2 separate regions of the Homo sapiens genome follow, and region 1 is linked to region 2. Evidence: promoter capture Hi-C in 16 types of primary human blood cells and fetal thymus (Javierre and others, 2016). All regions are on one chromosome and are shown on one strand. Each heading gives the region's core, a stretch centred on a gene start or on the middle of the fragment in contact. The rest is flanking DNA. Distances are from core to core; before and after follow the strand shown. Region 1 holds the start of SLC2A11 (solute carrier family 2 member 11). Region 2 holds the start of RGL4 (ral guanine nucleotide dissociation stimulator like 4).

Region 1 (5,800 bases), core at 2,241-4,740, 170 kb after region 2:
CGCCATCCCATCTAGGAAGTGAGGAGCGTCTCTGCCCGGCCGCCCATCGTCTGAGATGTGGGGAGCACCTCTGCCCCGCCGCCCTGTCTGGGATGTGAGGAGCGCCTCTGCTGGGCCGCAGCCCTGTCTGGGAGGTGGGGAGCGTCTCTGCCCGGCTGCTCCGTCTGAGAAGTGAGGAAACCCTCTGCCTGGCAACCGCCCCGTCTGAGAAGTGAGGAGCCCCTCCGTCCGGCAACCACCCCGTCTGGGAAGTGAGGAGCGTCTCCGCCCAGCAGCCACCCCGTCCGGGAGGGAGGTGGGGGGGGTCAGCCCCCCGCCCGGCCAGCCGCCCCGTCCTGGAGGTGAGGGGCTCCTCTGCCCGGCCGCCCCTACTGGGAAGTGAGGAGCCCCTCTGCCCGGCCAGACGCCCCGTCCAGGAGGGAGGTGGGGGGGTCAGCCCCCCGCCCGGCCAGCCGCCCAGTCCGGGAGGGAGGTGGGGGGTCAGCCCCCCGCCCGGCCAGCCGCCCCGTCTGGGAGGGAGGTGGGGGGATCAGCCCCCCGCCTGGCCAGCCGCCCCATCCGGGAGGTGAGGGGCGCCTCTGCCCGGCCGCCCCTACTGGGAAGTGAGGAGCCCCTCTGCCCGGCCAGCCGCCCCGCCCGGGAGGGAGGTGGGGGGGTCATCCCCCCACCTGGCCAGCCGCCCCATCCGGGAGGGAGGTGGGGGGGTCAGCCCCCTGCCCGGCCAGCCGCCCCGTCCGGGAGGGGGGAGGGGGGGTCAGCCCCCTGCCCGGCCAGCCGCCCCGTCCGGGAGGGAGGTGGGGGGGGTCAGCCCCCCGCCTGGCCAGCCGCCCCGTCCGGGAGGGAGGTGGGGGGATCAGCCCCCCGCCTGGCCAGTCGCCCCGTCCGGGAGGTGAGGGGCGCCTCTGCCCGGCCGCCCCTACTGGAAAGTGAGGAGCCCCTCTGCCCGGCCAGCCGCCCCGTCCGGGAGGGAGGCGGGGTGGGGGGGGGGGGGTCGGCCAGCCGCCCCGTCCGGGAGGGAGGTGGGGGGGGTCAGCCCCCCTTCCGGCCGGCCGCCCCGTCCGGGAGGTGAGGGGCGCCTCTGCCCGGCCGCCCCTACTGGGAAGTGAGGACCCCTCTGCCCGGCCAGCCGCCCCGTCCGGGAGGGAGGTGGGGGGGACAGCCCCCCGCCCAGCCAGCCGCCCTATCCAGGAGGTGAGGGGCGCCTCTGCCCGGCCGTCCCTACTGGGAAGTGAGGAGCCCCTCTGCCTGGCCAGCCGCCCCGTCCGGGAGGGTGGTGGGGGGGTCAGCCCCCCGCCCGGCCAGCCGCCCCATCCGGGAGGTGAGGGGCGCTTCTGCCCGGCCGCCCCTACTGGGAAGTGAGGAGCCCCTCTGCCCGGCCACGACCCCGTCTGGGAGGTGTGCCCAGCGGCTCATTGGGGATGGGCCATGATGACAATGGCGGTTTTGTGGAATAGAAAGGCGGGAAGGGTGGGGAAAAAATTGAGAAATCGGATGGTTGCCGGGTCTCTGTGGATAGAAGTAGACATGGGAGACTTTTCATTTTGTTCTGTACTAAGAAAAATTCTTCTGCCTTGGGATCCTGTTGATCTGTGACCTTATCCCCAACCCTGTGCTCTCTGAAACATGTGCTGTGTCCACTCAGGGTTAAATGGATTAAGGGCGGTGCAAGATGTGCTTTGTTAAACAGATGCTTGAAGGCAGCATGCTCGTTAAGAGTCATCACCACTCCCTAATCTTAAGTACCCAGGGACACAAACACTGCGGAAGGCCAAGGCCGCAGGGTCCTCTGCCTAGGAAAACCAGAGACCTTTGTTCACTTGTTTATCTGCTGACCTTCCCTCCACTATTGTCCTATGACCCTGCCAAATCCCCCTCTGCGAGAAACACCCAAGAATGATCAATAAAAAAAAAATAAATAAATTAAAAAAAAAAAAGAAAAAAATTAACCTATCAAAATAAAATATCAGCAGTTGAAACTAACAATGTATTAATAACAATAATATTATGACCAAGTTGCGTCTACCCCAAGAATTCAAGAATGGTTTACCATTAGAAAGTTTATTGATGTAACTGATCTCATTAACAGATTAAAGGAGAATACCCATATGATCATCTTAATAGATGCACGAAAAGCATGCAATAAAATACCTATTTATTATAACTGCTAATATTTTGTGTTTTTCCTTAAAAATGCAGTGTTTTTAGGAATTAAAGTTCAGAGCAGCAAAAGTCAAACAAAAACCAAGTCTGAGCAATAGAGCTACTACAGTGCCCATCACAGTGTCTGCTCAGGTGACTTCTTAAGGTCATGTCCAGCTCTATGTTTCTGTGACCACAAATAGCATCTTTGGCAAGTCTAGTTTCAGTTGGTCTTTGTCCAGCTCCTGGATTCCTCCATGCAGGGCCTGAGAAGCCCTGAGGGATAAAAGATTAATCCGGTTCAGTGGACTCTGTGGTTCCTCAACTCCAAGTGCCCCCAGCATAAGTCGGACCTGCCTCTCACGCAATGGATCCCCTGGCGGCAACCCGAGACCGGTTCTCCTACCCGCATTCCGCCAAGTCTCTCGCTCTGCCCAGGACGCACAGATGAGAGCGCTCCGAAGACTGGTGGGTCTATCTTTCGGTCTTTCCTAATTTTCCCGTCCTCTGGGGAAAGGTCGGGGATACCTGAACCAAAGTGTGTGTGTGTGGGGGGGGGGGGGTGTAGGTGGGGCGTGCATAGATGTGCACAACCAAGGGCTTGGCCCTCCGGAGAACGCCCAGGGGCAGTGGCCTCCGAGGTTCTGGCGGCCGGCAGTGGCGACCGGCGCAGGGAATCGCGCAGGGTTGCGGCTGAGGTCAGACCAGCGAGAGACAGAGACCCGCAGACATTTAGTCCAGAGACTGTAGCAAAGGAGGGGGACGAGGGGCCAGAGCCGGAATTTCGGGGGAGGACTTGGGAGCGCGGCGACCAGAGTCGCTTGCTGGCACTTGCGAGGGCGAATGCAGGGGCTTGGCCGAGATGACCTTGGACCAGAGCTCCCTTCCGGCCTGCAGAGATGAGCTTGGGGCTTAGCCGAGTAAGGAGTGAGCGGCTTTTCAGCCTCAGTGCTGCGGCAGAGGCGGATGGAGGATGAACTGGAGCCGTCCTTACGGCCTCGGACGCAGGTGAGCTCCCAGCGGCGGCGACAAACCCCGCGGCGGTGACCCCAAACCCCCCCCCCGCGGCGGCGACTCCCCCCCAACACGCTGGGGCGAACTCCCCAGCACCCCCAGCCCTTCTTAAAAACGCTGAGTCCGCGCATGCGCCTCAGGCGCCCTCCGCGACACTCTAGCGGCTCTGCGCTTCACTGCGCCTGAGCTTGAGTCTCAGGCCTTAGTCCCGGCCATCGTTTAGCGTTGCGCGAACCCTCAGCTGGTGCGGCCGCTCTCAATACCCACTGCGCTTGCGCTACAGCTTCGTCTCGACGGGTTTGCTCCTCTCAAACGCTCACTGCGCGTGCGCTAGCGCCTCTTTCACCACTGGGCGCTGCGCGCTGCCCTTCCCTCCGCGCACAGGCTGCCGGCTCACCGCTTGCTAATGGCAGCCGGGGTCTCCCTGGGACAGCAAGACCTCCGCTCAGGCCCCTCTTTCGAATGCTCCACGCCCTCCTGCGATCTAGAATGGTATGAATTCTCATACTTGCCCAGACCAGGCGTTTCAGATGAGGGATTGCGGACCTGAGTGAACTGCGCAGGTGCAGCCACCTGGGAGGCTTAACTAAGTCGTCAAATGTTCAAAAATATCGTGCTTGTATGTACAGTGGCGTTAGGTGCTAGGCTCAGATGTGCATAGGCAGGTGTTTACGCCCAGGGTCGGCCTGTGGGCCAGAGCAAGGTTGCTGGACCCTGGCATCCCAGCCCCCAGAGATGCTAAATCCTCTGCCGATCAGCCCTGACCTCAGAGGCAGTAAGCCCTCCGAGCGCTGCAATCCTGACTGCTCGCCCCCTCCCGAGACTGTTTCCCACCCCCGCCTCTTTCCTCCTCATGCTCCCTCAGCTCTGACCTGACGTCCTGCCTCACAGAGGGAAAGGGCGCAGCCAGAGGAGAGCGCCCGCACTGCACTGCCCACCGCTTCTAGGGGTTCCTTCCCAATCTGGACTGATTTCTTTAGGTATTTGCATGGCACATTCCCTCACCTCCTTTGTCTTGATTTGCACTTGTATTCCTTGACAGCCTTATTTAAAATAGCACCAACTAAGGTGGGAGGATCGCCCAGGAGTTCGAAGCTGCAGGGATCTAATAGGATCTCACCACTGCACTCCAGCGTGGGCGACGTAGCGAGACCTTGTCTCTAAAAAATAAAAATAAAATAAAATAAAATAAAATAGCACCACCTGGTCCAAACACTTCCTACGCCCCTTCACTGCTTTAAGTCTCTGTAGCACCAGCTGATGTACTATATATTTTGCTTGTTCATTTTGCGATTGCTTGTCTTTCTCTGCTGGAAGGAAAGCTCTGACAGCTCATGGATTTTGTCTGTTGTTCACTGCTGTATCCCAACACCTAGAACAGTAGGATTATTGACCATAATAGGGAGGCAATAAATCTTTGTTTGCTGAATTAATGGTCCCTATCGTAGCTAATGTCTGAATGCTTACCATGACCAGGCACGGTATAGGCAATCTCCATGCATGATCTCATTGAATTCAACGATTTCCTGTAGTCTTAGAGACCTGTCAATATCTCCTGCTACATGAGCTCAGCTGCCATCAAGCACTGTGTTCGCTGCTTCCTTCACATCTGCTGTCTTAAGGGAGCTCTCACTTCCATGCGGCCCCCGTGGAGCTGTAATTTGGCCTCAATGGGACCAGATGCCAGGTTTCTCACCTGGCTTCTTCCTAAGGCTTCCAGCCTTAGAGAAAGTTACTTAGGCCTTATTGGAACTATGGGCAGCCAGGGCCCCTGTCACCAACCTGTCTCCAGACCTATGGCAAGGCCTTCAGCAGGATTCTGCCCTCCAGAGCCACTTCCTCTGCTCCCCCAGCCTCCAGTGCAGTATCTCACTGAATGGTGAAAGCACAGCTGTCTCTTTCCCAGCTGTATCTTGCCCCCCAGCACACTTCCTGGCTGAGATAAACATTCAGCATTTTTTTTTTTTTGAGATGGAGTCTCACTCTGTTGCCCAGGCAGGAGGGCAGTGGCGCGATCTGGGCTTACTGCAACCTCCGCCTCCCTCCCGGATTCAAGCAATTCTGCCTCAGCCTTCTGAGTAGCTGGGATTACAGGTGCCCACCACCAAGCCCGGCTAATTTTTGTATTTTTAGTAGAGACAGGGTTTTACCATGTTGGCCAGGCTGGTCTCGAACTCCTGACCTCAAGTGGTCTGCCCACCTCGGCCTCCCAAAGTGCAGGGATTGCAGGTGTGGGCCACGACATCCGGCCAACACTCAGTATTTGACTAATAAATGAATAAATAGTCCGTAGGTTCTGGAAACTTCAGAAAACCTTAGCCAAACATCCTTCTGTCATGAAAATTGTATCAAAGTTTTCAAAAATAATACATTTAATTCTACAGAACAATTTGCCAGAACAAGAAAGGCAGTATTTTTTGGGGGAAGATATCAACGATTCAATTTTTGTAAAGTCAACTACTTTGCAAATATCTAGGAAAATACCTGAGGGAAGGAGTTAATTGTTGTGCCTTTGGAGGAGTGGAGAACTTTCAGTATATACTGAATTTTCAAAAATCTTAACAAACGTGTCATTTTGTAATTAAAAATCACAAAAGAGTGGGCTGGGTATGGTGGCTCACGCCTGTAATCCTACCACTTTGGGAGG
Region 2 (6,305 bases), core at 3,692-6,191:
TCTCCTGCCCCATCAAATAAATCCAAATCTCTGCAGGGTGACACAGGGTATTAACATTCTTAAATTTTGCCTTTGCTGAAGTAAACATATAGTAATGGCTGAAAACCACTGCGTTATGTAAATACACTTCCTATGACTTATTTGTAGTCCTTTTGTATCTAGCAATTTCTACAGACCCTCTCTGTGGGCTTCGGAAGCCAGAATGGGCAGGGCCAGGTGTGAGGTGTCCTAGGACACTGAGGGTAGAGCACAGCTCCCAGCTCAGGGGGACCCATTTCTGAGGCTAAGGCACCCACCTGGGGCTCAGCCTATCTTCAGAGGGAAAATCACACCTCAGAACACCAGACACCCAAAAGAAAGCTCCAGTTCGGCAGATACCTGCCAATAGACCCTGGAGTGGCTGCCCCAGGGAAAACTGCCATTGCACTGTCAGCTCCCTCCAGCCCTCTCTCAGGTCCCAGCAGGAGCAGATTTCTGACTAAGCTCAGAGGTCTCAACAAATGGCAGGTTGAACATCAGAGGAGTTATTAATAGGCCTATAGTTACCTCAAGACTCCACCTTACCAGGGCCAAAAATGAGTCCTGGGAGGGCAGCCAGAAAGAAAGTAGGGCAGAGAGGAAACACAGGGAGAGGGGCCCTGGGACCACGTCAGATATGGAGGGAACCAGGGGAACGAGAGCAGCCCTGATGATTGTACTCCCCACAGCCCCTGCATGCCTGTGAACCCTGAGAATTCAGGGTGAGGAGCTCACTCTTGCCTTTCACCTGTTCCTGGGCTCTGGCAGGCTGGCCTGCTTCCTGCCCCAGCCTCACCCACTCTCCGCACTCCTCGCCACTGATGTGGGCAGCTGATCTCTCCGGTTTGCTGGGCTCTCACCCTCTGCCCAATGGCACCAAGTTAACTTCTTCGCATGCTTTATTTTCTGTGATTAAAAAGGGAAACAATTCTCACTAACGCCATTTCTCAGAGGAGAAAACAGGCACAGGGATGTTCTATGACTTCCTCACGATCACCAAGCTACAAGGGGGAGCTGGGCTTTGAATGGAGGTCTACCCATGCTCCTAAAGTTGAGGCGTCCTCCAAGGAAAGGACAGCACCTATAAAAGCTCAATGAATGGGGCGGCAGTGTCACCACTAAGCCCGACCACGCTGCTACTCTGATATCCAACTTCCAGCCTCCAGAACAGGGAGAAATACAGTTCTGTTTTTGATGAGCTCCCCAGGCCGTTACAGCTCTTTCTTTGCTGTAACAGCCTGAACTAGCCCAGAAGTGCTATTCCATCATCTGTGTCATATTCCATCATTCAGAAGGGAGTCACTAACCCCTCAGTGCTGTCTCTGTGGACGCTGCCCACCCTAGGCTGAGATGAGGCACAGGGTCTGGGTCTAAATAAAATGGGAAGGCACTGGAAGGTGCAATGTCATAGGAGGAGGATGTCTGAATTTCATTTAATCTCAACCTCTACTGGTGCAGCATGAAAGATGAGGCCCAGAGCAAAAGTGTCTTTTCCCGAGATCACACTGTGGACCCCAGGCCCACTGGAGTTGCATTAGACGTTACCTCTCACCCCTTCTTGTATTTGTTCCATTTCTAAGTGTGTGCAATATCCACAGGGAACACCACACCATGAGTTTTTAAATATTTATCTCAAACATAACCTCATGAGTTCCCTAGGAAAGAGATGCTAGCATAACCCCCATTGTGCATGCTGGGGAGACCCCAAAACACCAAAGGAGTTCTCTAGGGTCTCACAACTGCTAAAATAAAGGCTGTTTGACCCAGCACTGTCTCCTCAAACCTGGGACCCTGGTTATATCCAGGTCTTCCCAAGGTGCTGAAGGGGCACACTTTTTCATAATGGTGACTACGTAAGGAGTTGACGGGGGAGGGTGAGCGGTCAGAAGCCCAGAGGGGCCTTTGAGTAGGACTTATGGAAAGGAGGAGCTTACAGGATGGAACCTACAAGATGTGACCTCACTTCCTTGCCGACAGACCCCCAACAGAACTTACAATTCTGGTAACTAGGCACCCACATTCTAGAGACAGCCCCATTTCCAGCTCACTTCGTAGGCGATGCTCGAGAGAACAACATGTTCTCCTGCTGTATCCCGACATGCTGCCGACCTCCTCGTCGCACAAGAGGCCAAAATGAGAGTCTTTCCCGAGAATATAGACATTGGTTCAACCCTCACCCTCGACGCCTCTGGCCCTTTGCCAGAAGGCACCCACAGGTAACACAGGGCCCAGGGCAGGCCCATCCAGGCTAGGCCTCAGCTGTGCCCATCAGGGCAGCCTCAGGCCCCTCCCCACTTGTTTGGGGGAAACAGGAGATGAGGGGCCCTCCCTGGATAGGAGCAGGTAGGTTGTCAGGTGTTTGGAGCCTGGTAGGTATGTCAGGTTCACAGCCCAGGCAGTGCCTGGCAGGATGGGAAGGTGAGTGTCAAGGACACAGTTTGTCTGCTCAGATCTGAATCCCAAGTCCTCAAGCTGTCATCTGCCGGAGACCTCAGGCTTCTCTGGCTGGAGGTCTATGCAGATGCTCCTATGTGCCAAATCCTGTTGGGGAAGGGGGTGCCAGGGATGAGTTCTAATGGGGGTGTCCCACTGTGGGGTCAGCCAGACAGGCCACTGACACCTCTTGGCCCGGCTCTCGGGCACTCTCTTTGCAGAGCTCCACACAACAGACCAAACAAGAGCTGTTGGATGGATTCAATTTCTCCATATTCTTCAAAGGGCACGTGCACCACACCACCAACCACGTCCAGTGCCGGTCTGCGGTGAGATTGGGCACAGAAGGGTCTCCACAGACAGGACTTGTGAAAACCAAGGTGGGCCCAGGACTCAGACACGAATATGGGGACTCCCTAAGCTCCATCCTAGGGCGTTCCCACTTGAGTGACCCACTGTCCTCTCCCAAAGGAATCTGGCTGCCATTAGTCCCCAGTGGCAACTTGGTTACAGGCAAAGTCCCTTTCACCTATCAGAGGAAGACCAGAGAAAATCCTTCTGTTTTCACTTTAGGCTATGCCAGGAGTATCTCGGCATGTTGCTTTAAGAATTGAGTACAATGGTAACATTGCAGCAAAATACTCACACTGTTATCATTTTAACTCCCCACCCTAAGTGGATCTCCGGCAACAGGCAGGCAGCTCCGCTGCCCTGCCAGACCTCCTCCAGGACTTAAAATCCAACACTTTTGCACAAACAAGGGGTGGGGGTGGGGGGGGTGCATTGATTACAACAAAAGAAGGTGAAGCGACTCTATGCATTAGTCTTTAAAGTGTCATCTCACAGAACTCATCCCTGCAGCCCCATCAGGCAGGAGTTGTACCCTCGCATGTCATTGTAACATTCCTTAAGGGAGGCCATTTTCCACAGCGGGTCAGCCTCTCAGTGCTGGTGGAGCCTGTCATGATAAAATTCCCTTTCGAGGCAGCCTTTCTACAAGGAGCATAATCCTATGCGTGTCCTAATAGGCTGGAGCAGTTTGCCAGGGCTGCCATAACACGGCACCCTGACTGAAGGGCTTAACCACAGAAATCTGGTTCCTCACAATTCTGGAGACTGGAAGTCCAACGTCAAACTGTCAGCCTGGGGTGGTTTCTCTGGGCCTCTCTCCTTGCCTTGGAGATGGCGGACTTCTATCTCAGTCAGCACAGGGTCTTCTCTTGAACTTCTCTGTGCGCTGACCCCCTCTCCTTGTAAGAACCCCAGGCATGTTAAATTAGGGGCCACCCTAATGAACTCACTTCACCTGAATTACCTCTTGGAGTACTCTGTGTCCAGACACAGTCACATTCTGAGTCTCTGGGGTTGAGAATAGAAACAGTTACATTTGGGGAAGGGGACACAATTCAACCCATAAAATAAACAAATCCCCTGCAGCAGACAGACACCCAGGAAAGGGATATCTGGGTGAAAGGATATGCAGATATCAACTTTCAACAGCTCTAGCTAGTTGACTTTCCAAAAGGGCTCCAGCTGGTCACACGGTCACCAGCAGCCTCTGAAGGTAGCTGCTTCTCTGAACGCAGCCTCCCCTGAATACTAACACGCTTTTAACTTTTCGCCAACCTGCTGTCTGTGTGGCAGAGAAAATCCTTGTTTCATTTCCACTTTCAAACATACATTTGCGTAACCTTTCACGGGTTCAATACCTGCCTGCGTTTTCCCCAAGTCGCCTCGCAGATCCTGGGCCTTGGGACGCGCTTCCTCCCACCCTGGAGTCTTCCGGCATTTTCCCCTTGGCCAGGGCTGGGATGGCCGTAGCTGTTTCTCCAGACTCACGTTCATGTTAAAGGAACAAAAACAATCATATACCTTTAAGTCAAAGAGTTCTTCTAGAGCGTATTGTCCTGTGTGCTGTTGCTGAAATGAGGAGGGGATGAGGCCTCCCCAGGCCTTGAGGACTTGCAGGGATGATGCTCTTCATGCAGGTTGCTGACACAGAGGGTGCTGTTGCCCCACAGCTGACAAACACCGGGACGATGCCTTGAAGGCAGGAATCGTTTTATCATTCTCCATCCTCACATGCAATGTTACTTTGAAAGCCTAGAACGCTTTTCACCATGGGCACCCAGGTTCTCCATATGCACAAGTCCCTGAAGGGTTGGTGCTTCTTGGTGTGAGTTCCAGATCCCGATCCTCTGGTGGTCCATGGTGTTACCACTGACTCCCATGTCCCTCCTTGTCCCCCTAGTATGAAAATGAGATCTGCAGGATGCTAACTTTCCAGCCCGGCACTGGGGAGAAGCTGTTGGGAGTCCCTGGTTCCAGCCTTTCTAACTAAACCCATCTCCTCCTATGCCACCTGCCTGGGCCCCTCCTGGGACTTTATCACTGTGCCACACTTTTTGGAACTACTGGTTAGAAGGTGAGTGTCCATCCCCCTCCAAGACACAGAGGTGCCTCTGTCCCCTACTGGCTCTGTCTTGAAGATGCACCTCTCGGAGCCTCGGTTGGCTCCTCTGGAACAGGGAGTAGTGAGAAGACGAACCTCACAGGGTTCTTGTAGGGACTCAATGATCTAAGACACAGCAAACAAAGGGGTCCCTAGAGCCTAAAACTCTGGAAAATCTGCTGGGGGTGCTGTGATTCATGTTTGTTACTTTTCTCTTCCCCCTCACTTGAAGCAGCTCTCAGCATTCTGCCTCAATGGCCTGTATCACTCACTGTTTGGAAAAACACATAGAAACCAAGTCTGCGATGGCACTGGTAAAGGATGTCTGAGATTCCTTCTGGCTGGTCTTTCTCCTTGACACAGACAGAAGAGGGGTCCCTTGGTGCTGAAAAAGGAGCCACAGGCCCACTCAGACATCTGGAGAGGCTCACTGGGGTTCTCCAAAGGTTGGGGTTCACTCATTCAACACATACATTCAAAACACCTCATTTGTGCATCGCTCTTCTTGGGGCTTGGCATAATTTCATAAACAAAGCAGATGACAATCCCCCGGCCTTGATTCTACTCAGAGTCAGGCACTCACAGTAGACAGAATAAACAAGTCATATCTACAGAATGTTACAGGTGAGACCCTCATGGCCTCCTCTACGTATGGTGGCATCCTCCCAGATTCTGACTAGAATGACGCAGCCCAGCAACAAATATAAACTGGGTGGATTTAGGGTTCTGAAGGGCCTTTTCACCCACAAAACATGGGGGAAAATATGTGGACTCTGGCTGGGGAGAGACTAAAGGAGCTCTGGGGCTCATACTTCTTATAATTCCCACGAGAAGGCTGACATCTGGGGACTTCCCCCACAAGAGGCAAATAGTGAGTTCTGTAAATGGAGACTTAGGTCCCCTGCAAAGCAGAGGGGAGGCTGGGGTCACAGCTGGCCACTGAGAGACCCATCCCCCTCAGCACCGTGGCTTCCCAGCTCTCCCTGTCCTCCTCCCCCCGACATCTGCCCCTTCCCTCCTAACCCCAGGACCAGGGGACCCAGATCTGGAGCTTTGATGAGGAAGCTGCTCACAAATCTGCCTGCAGCTGCAGTCTTGAGTGCCCAGGTGTACAGTGCTGTGCTCCAGGGCCTTTGGGAAGAGAATGTCTGTGGGACGCCAGGGCGCACGAGGGTCTGTACAGCCCTGCTGTATGGCCAGGTCTGCCCCTTCCAGGACAGCACTGATGGCTTACGGTAGGGTGGGGCTGTCCTCCACACTGGCAGCAACAGGCCAGGGACCCAGAACCACGCAGGGGTGCCCTGGAGGGTTGTGTGGGAGAAGGCCAGGCCTCTGACTCAGCTGTCTACTCCATCACCAGCACCATCACCTCCATTTTGTTCAACTGGCCCCCCGAAAACAC

Evidence for each region. Contacts are between HindIII fragments. The CHiCAGO score rates a contact against its expected background, and 5 or more counts as called.
Region 1: a contact is called between the fragment with the promoter of SLC2A11 here and the fragment with the promoter of RGL4 in region 2, in 2 of 17 cell types (total B cells and non-activated CD4 T cells). The highest score is 6.3, in total B cells.

What each region holds. Positions count from the first base shown.
Region 1 is chr22:23,854,385-23,860,184 of GRCh38, forward strand. It overlaps SLC2A11 (solute carrier family 2 member 11), which reads left to right and starts at 3,491. Exons shown (of 12, transcript NM_001024939.4): 1 at 3,491-3,645. The coding sequence starts at 3,616. The HindIII fragment of the contact is 21,043 bases long and covers 1-5,800 here.
Region 2 is chr22:23,686,072-23,692,376 of GRCh38, forward strand. It overlaps RGL4 (ral guanine nucleotide dissociation stimulator like 4), which reads left to right and starts at 4,942. Exons shown (of 11, transcript NM_153615.2): 1 at 4,942-6,138; 2 at 6,264-6,305. The coding sequence starts at 5,960. It also overlaps the pseudogene GUSBP11. The HindIII fragment of the contact is 11,564 bases long and covers 1-6,305 here.